2 separate regions of the Homo sapiens genome follow, and region 1 is linked to region 2. The links are contacts of gene promoters, found by promoter capture Hi-C in human tissues and cell types (Jung and others, 2019). All regions are on one chromosome and are shown on one strand. Each heading gives the region's core, a stretch centred on a gene start or on the middle of the fragment in contact. The rest is flanking DNA. Distances are from core to core; before and after follow the strand shown. Region 1 overlaps EPHA1-AS1 (EPHA1 antisense RNA 1). Region 2 holds the start of EPHB6 (EPH receptor B6).

Region 1 (3,852 bases), core at 949-3,448, 600 kb before region 2:
GGTCTTGGGAATTAGTGATTAGAAGGGCATCTGGCTGTGATTAGGGCACTTGACTAACTTATTCCAAATTTCTGGGTTCTGACTCAGGATTCTCTAAGTTCAGGAAAGCCATTTACAAATTTCAAGTCACGGCAAAAGAAAGGAAGTTTCTTTGAGGCTTTTGCAATTTTACTTCTCAGAGCTGGGTTACTACCGGTTGCTGCAGGACTGGGCTGGTCCAGGGAAACTGGAATCGAAACCATGCTAGTTCATAAAGTATGATGATGTCAGAAACAAGCACAGACCAATGTAGATCAATACTGCAAGTCAAGGAGGGAGTCAAAGACAACAATCATAGGGCTAGACCAAGCTGGAGCAAACAGGCCAGGAGCAGAGTCCTCCTTGGGAAACCACTTAACTTTTCCGATTATCTATAAGACAGTAGAACTTAAGCAGAATTTAGAATCCAAGGTTTAAACTCAGCAAAGAAATGTGAATGGAGAGCATAGGAAAGCAGAGGAAAATATCTCAAGGTTTAATTATTTTTTACTCGAATGAGAATGCTGTTGATTTTAGGACAGGGACTGCACTCTGTCACCCAGACTGGAGTGCAGTGGTGTGATCACAGCTCACTGCAGCCTTGACCTCCCCGGGCTCAAGCAATCCTCCCTTCTCAGCCTCCTGAGTAGCTGGGACCACAGGCGCATGCGACCACACCTGGCTAATTGTACTTTTTGTAGAGATGGGATTTTGCTATGTTGCCCAGACTAGCCTGGAACTCCTGGACTCAAGCGATCTGCCTGCATCAGCCTCTCAAAGTGCTGGGATTATAGGTATGAGCCATTGCTCCAGAATTTAAGATCCTTCTTGATGTGAAAGAGCCAGAGCTTCTGCCACGTAGACCCTCCAGAAGAGAACAGGGTTCATGGACATGCTGTTGAGTGCATGTACCTGCAACTGCAGCAAGGCACGTGGCTCTGCCTCTGGGTCATTCTGTAGTTGTAAAATGTTCCACAAGCAACTACTGAGCTGCTCATTGTATCTGAAGGACTATACATTCTTTATAGCCAAGACTATGCAATATTTCTCTCTTTCACTGCTCTAGTAAAAATGTTTAAGAATTTCTAAAGTTTATGATTCTTTCATTCATCAGCACCTGTGACTCATTGATTCTTCCTCACAAAGTGTTCATGATCATTCATCTTCTGATTCTCAAAAGGATTTGCTCAAAGAATGTTTGCTGAACACAGTATAAGGTCTTAATCACTTAAATACATGCTTTAATTTCAGACACTTCTCTTTGTTTTATAGGGAGACACACGTTGTTCTCTCAATGGACAAGGATCTTCTTCAACCCCTGCATCCCCCACATAGTGGCACAAAGGAAATATTTGTTGAATGAATGAGGTTAGTTGCTTTTCCTTTTTAAAATAATCTTGATGTGTCACTACATATTTTGGTACAGATGCTTTCAATATTTGGTTATTCAAGGAGACTGAGTTGGCAAAACTTTAAATAGATGCTATGATAGAAGCAGTAAAGCTTGCATTTAGCTTGGAAATGTTGAGAAGAAACATGTATACATTTTCATCTTCATGATCCTCCTCACCTAAAGCCGTGGGCTACTGGAATGTCTGCAGAGTATGTTGTACATACAAAGACATTTTCACTCTTACTTGTTGGAACCCCTGAATATATCTGGTCCCATCACCACAGGTTGGTGGTGACATTTTTCAAAACTAAAATTAAAAAATAATGGATCAGTAAAACTTCACCATAAGAATACCTGTAATAAAAATTCCCAAACACAGATAATGGAAAATGTAATGTTATTGACTCGGATAAATATAAGCCATTGGCTTTAACTTGAGAAATACAGCTTTTCCCCCAACTTTCTTACAGATTCCTCAATTATAGTACAGAGGAGTTAAAATTTAAATGCTTCCCAACTCTAAAGTAGCTGGTCCAATGTGGACCAATTTGGATCAGCTACTTTTCTTCTCCATTTGAAACTTTCCAACAATAAAGACAACAGTCTTCTTGTACTTGATCCCTACAGAATTAAACAGATGCTGCTTTTGGTGTGGACCCAAATCATAGCCCCTCAAGGAGTTTGTCAGCAGATTTGGAAGCCACCAACTTTTAAAAGTAAAGTCCTAATCCCTTATTTTATGAAAATTATACTGCCACTGGAGGCAGAAATCTATCTTGTCCTCAAAAACATTGCACTTGGTTGGGCACGGTGGTTCATGCCTATAATCTCAGTACTTTGAGAGATTGAGGCAGGCGCATCACTTCAGACCAGGAGTTTGAGACAGCCTGCGCAACAGGGCAAAACTACATCTCTACAAAAAATGAAAAATAATTAGTAGGGCATGGTGGTATGCGCTTATAGTCTCAGCTATTCAAGGAGGCTGAGGTGGGAGGATCCTTTGAGCCCAGGAGTTTGAAGCTGCAGTAAGCCACGATTGCACCACTATGCTCAGCCTGGGGAACAGAGTGAGAACTTATCTCAAAACCAAACAAACAAACTATTGCAATTTAGTTTTGATGTAAAAGGTATAACAATCTGAGTACATAGGAGCAGTTTCATATTTTAAAAAAATCACCTTGAGCAAAATAGATAATGAAAGTATCATGTAAATAGTGTATTTTAAATAGTTTATTCAACCTCTTTTTAAAAATTGTTTGGCTTACTGAAAGAAAAATAAAAGTTTTCAAAAAGAACTGTCCCCACACACAGTCCCCTACCCCCAACTAGCCTTCGATTTCCATCACTATAGTCCAGAACAAGTATTATTTATAGTTAAAAGATGCATCAGTCAGCTCAGCTAACTAAAGTTCCAAATGCATTCAGCTGCCTACTGCTGAAGCCCAGTTTCGAAAGCTTTTATCTGTCACCAAGGCCAGCCATCCACACCATTGAAACTCAGAATCATTACAAGCCTGTGACAGAGGCCAACCCCATGAGCAGAAGCTCCCTCTCTGCCTCACAATTCTGATTTCACTTCAAAGATCCAGTTTCCCTCACAACCCTCCTCCTATCTGAGGTCTTGTTCTTGTGACTTTTTTAATCTCAAGATTACCCCCATTCACTTGAGTGAATCACAATAGAGTGGCCAGCGATATGGGCCTAAGTATACAAGAGTTCAGAAAAGGAGGCCATGCATGACTTTAAGAAATGTCGAACCTAATAGATTACTATCAAAGATAAACAGAAACCCCAATATCAAGTATTTGAAAAGTACAAAATTTGCAGCAAAATATTACAAATAAGTAATACTAAATAATGGACTGTATCCGATTAGTTTCCATTTTATAATTCTCTCAGTACTAGGGTCAAATATGAACTATTATATTATACTTCATTAGTGGTCACTTCAGCTCTTCACTGCTTCGTACTCCTTTAACTGGTGTATATATGTTGCATGGTAAATTTCTTGAATGTTAAGATCCTACTTTTATAACCCCATTGCACTTAGCAGGGATGTACACCTAGACCTCCATATCAAAGTGATCAATAAATGCTTGTTAAGATGTATATGAACATGGAAGCAATTACTCGTCTCTAACAACAACTGTGAAAAATGTGGAGGCTCAGTGTTGTATCAGTGAACCAGCAAAATCACCAGTTTCTGAATGTGTAAGAGAATATCAATTGATGATCCAGCTTCTAGCAGCCACGCCCATTTCTACAAGCATAGAAATGATGACCTGTTGCATAATAATAGTAGTCTAGTTAATTATAATAAAATAATGTATGCATGTGTTCAGCAAATATTTATTGAGTGCCTACAATTTGCCAGTAAAAACAAAACAGACACAAATCCCTGTCTTCGAGAAGCTTACATTAGAGTGGGGGAAATAAACCAT
Region 2 (3,697 bases), core at 919-3,418:
TGGAGGCCTCCAGCCCCTGAGAATGTCCCCCAGAGCACTGTGACTCAGACAAATGTGCCTCCCACTCCCAGGCTGTGGAGCTGGGGGAGGCTTTTAAGATGCAGGCAGTGTCTAGGTCTAGCCAGACAGCCACTTAGAATGAGCCACTCTGTGCACTGACCGGGGACATGCGTGGCTCTGGAAAAGAGCATAAGGGAGGGTGTTAAGGCAGGAGGCAAATGTGCCTGAGAGATGAGTAAGTGGAAGGTTGTGGAAGAAAGCCCCTGAGTGCCAGGAGTAGCACCTGCGTCAGCAGTGCCTGAGGATGTGTGTCTACCTGGTGGAGTGTGTAAGGGAATGTGTATGAGATGAGGTGGGCGGGAGCAGATGCTGTCTGTGTAGATGGGGGCTGTTGCTTTCCTGTGGCAGAAGATGCACATCAGTGCTGGTTCCGGAGTGGTTCCATGGGCCCTTCTTCCTCACCTTCGGCCCCTGCTCTACCCCCAGTCTGGCTGTGAGTTGCTCTTGGCCCCAGGAGGTACTTCTGCAGAAACACCTGGGCTGGGAGAGGGAGCCAAGTGGGGGGCGGGGAGGAGTGGGTAAAGAAAGGGAAACCTGAGGCTTCCCAAACCCTCCAGAACCTGCCATCCTCCTTCTACCTAGAGTGGGAACTCAGGGTCTAGGGCCCAGGCTCAGGACAGAGTGATAGCAGAACAGCCGTCCCAGAAGGAGGATCCTGCCTTTCCCATGCTCAGCCCACCCCAGCCTGTTGCTCCCCAGCATTCTGGTAACTCAGTGTCATTGCCAACCATCTTTTTGCACCCTGAATGGAGTAATAGACTCCAAACAAGTCCTCCTTCTGAGGCCACCAGGTAAGTACATAGACACCCCCACGCTAATCTTCCTTTGAGAAAAAAGGCCCACTGCTCTGAAAAGCCAAGTGGCCCCACTGAGCAGCACTCAGAAGCCTCAATGCTCCAATGCCCCTTACTTGGGCAGCTTCTGTGGTCTACTAACAGCCCCACACAGCTCCCTCCCACTGGTCTCTCAGCTCAGGACCAGCATCTCCCCTCCTAGAGCCTCAGTCAAGTTCCCCTGGCGGGCGGAGGGCCTGGGTTAACTGGGAACAGACCCAGCAGCTCCGCTCCATGGGCGCTGCCAGGGACATTACAACATTGCTATGCTGGGTCCATGCCAGCTCCCCCAGGGATGGGAGGAGAGAGGGTGCCAGACGGCCAAGATCGGTGGGTGGGGGTGTGGGGCAAGCAGGGCCAAGCACCCAGATGGAGGGAGCAGAGCGAGGGTGGAGCTGGGGCAGGAGCACGCAATAGAATTTGGTTGCACGTTGGGGGTGATGGCTGGGCAGCAGGAACCAAGCGTTCCTTCCACCTCCAAGGCTTAACTGTGGTCATGGAGCTGGGGGGGACAGTGCCTTGTGGGGAGCAGGGGACAGGTGTGTGGTCAGCCTCCTGACTCCTCCCAGCTCCAAGGGGATTGGAGTGATGCCACTGGAGTCAGAGGGGTGGCAATCCTGTTCCAAGCGTGGAGCTCCGTCTCTGCGAGGACCCTCCCAGATTAGGACTCCCAAGCCAGAGCCAGAGGAGAATGTCTGGGAACGCAACTGGGGGATCCTAACAGCAAGGGTAATGCGGTGTCAATGATGCCAGGTCAGAGTGGAGTGAGAGGGGAGTAGCCAGGTTGACCGTTTCCTCACCCTTCATGAACCCCACTCTGGCCTTGAGGAAGGATCCTCAGTACTCCCTCAGGAAGCCACCTAGGGGCTGAGGAGCCCCACTACTCTTGCAAACCTTAATTCCTCTGTCCCCAAGCATACTGTCCCCGACCCCCACAACGCCGCCTGCTAACCCCGCGGGCTCACCTTCCCGTTGGCCGCAGTCTCTGCAGGTCTGCGCCCCCCGAGGCCTCGCAGTGGACCCGGGGCTCCTGGAGCTCGCACGGTGCCACCCGCGTCTTCTCCAGTCCGGGGACCCCGTTGCACCCGGCCCGGGTCCGTTCGGCGCCGAGAGTCCCTGGGATTCCGGGGTGGACCTGACGCTGGCGGCAGGGGCTGCTCCAGAGGTGGGGCGCCGGGAGATCCTGGGGGCCCGCGTCGAGATCGCCGTCGCCAAGCTGGGTCCCGGGTCCCGCCGCCCGCTGCTGTAGAGCCGCGGCTGGAGCGAACGCAGCCCGGCCCGCCCCCTCCGCGTCCCCTCCCAAGCCGGCCCGGCCCGCCCCTTCAGCCCCTTTGGCCGCCTTCCCACTCCCTTCTTCCGGGGAGCCGAGCCCGCCCTCCCGGCCTAGGCGGTGAGTGCGCGGCGCCCGCTCCTCCGCCCCGGCGCGCGGGGGAGACGCGGGGCGCGCCCGGGGCCCCGCCTGTGCGCCGGGAAGGGGGCGGCCTCCTCCCGCGGGTCTTGGCCGGGAGGATCGCACGCGTGGGGCGCCTGCAGGAAGTGGGAAGGGAAGAGGCTGTCTGTAAAGCCCCTGCCTGGGCTCGGGCTCGGGCTCGGCTTGGGTCGGACACCCGCGGAGCGAAGCGCAACTGGCGGACCGTGGCAGTTCAGGGCAGGGCAGAGCCCTGCACACACCCCCTCGCGCCTCCCTCCTCTTCGGCTTTAACTCTAGGAACTAAAACAGTGGGGCTCCTACTCAGCTTGGAACTAAGGTGGGCGTGAGCTGAGCAAGAGAGAAGGAAGGAAAAGCAGGGGGTGGAGGGAAAGACAAACTGAGAAATCTGGGAGAGTACGGGCGGTGGTAGGGGGAGCCGAGGCAGCGGGAGAGGGGGGCGTCTCGGTATGAAAGCGTCGCCGTGCTAGCCGGGAACTCTTTTCTCTTTTCGTGTCTGGATCTTGGTCAACGTTGGGGCTTCTGAGTCGAACCTCCCTCCATCTACCCTCCCCAAGGGGCAGGGCAGTCGGGTTGAAAAGGGGAAGCGCTGCTGTACGCCTGGCTCTGACATGGCTTGGGCAAGTCGCTGCACCTCTGGGTGCCTCCTCCCTCGCCCGCGCTCCGGAGAGAACCTCCCTGCAGTGAGGAGGGGCGGTGCAAGGTGCTCTCAGCTGGCGCCTGGAGGCAGGGTTGAGGAACCGAGGGGGCGCCGCGAGGAAAAGTGTTTCCGCCCACCTCTAACCCCTTCTCTAGCCGAGGACGGGGATTTGGGGTCTATTGTTTGGGTCCTACAGAGCTGGGCTGGGGCCTTGCCACGAAGTGTTGCTACCACCTGCTGGTTTTTCTAGGGAGCACAAGCACCCGGTGCGATTCCCTTTGCCCCCTTTTCTCCCTGTATCGCCCTGTCCCATCTTGCTCTCCTGTTTATTAAAGCAAATGGGCTGATCAAAACTGGTACTTAAAGAGCATTCAGAAGCCGAAGAAAATTGTGAAAGAGATCTATGAGCCAACAAACACAATAAACAAAACAATGAAACTCAGTAAGAGTCACCTGGGAGAGACAAACAGGCTTTAATGAATTGACTGAATGAGTGATAGAAAGATAAAGGCTACCGAGCAAGTTCCCACTTGGCCAGGGGTTTGTTCACTCTTAATATCAGGAGTCAATAAATAAGTCTGATAGTATTTAATGACTGCATTTGGACGTCATTAATAATTCCACTTGTACTGACGGTTCTACTTTATCTTGTTTCTTCCCTTTGCCCTGAAACTCAGTGGTGGAGGGCTTCCTTCATTTTCTGGTTATCTCCAAGGCTTTCAAAGACTTCTGCAA

What was found. Contacts are between HindIII fragments. The study calls those that stand out against the background at their distance.
Region 1: a contact is called between a fragment that was not itself captured here and the fragment with the promoter of EPHB6 in region 2, in 1 of the 25 tissues and cell types used here (spleen).

What each region holds. Positions count from the first base shown.
Region 1 is chr7:143,454,742-143,458,593 of GRCh38, reverse strand. All of the region lies in intron 2 of EPHA1-AS1 (EPHA1 antisense RNA 1), which reads right to left. Among named protein-coding and RNA genes, the nearest start is that of TAS2R60, 13 kb to the right of the region's middle. The HindIII fragment of the contact is 5,522 bases long and covers 1-3,852 here.
Region 2 is chr7:142,853,547-142,857,243 of GRCh38, reverse strand. EPHB6 (EPH receptor B6) reads right to left here and starts at 2,168. Exons shown (of 20, transcript NM_004445.6): 1 at 1,859-2,168. The HindIII fragment of the contact is 9,136 bases long and covers 1-3,697 here.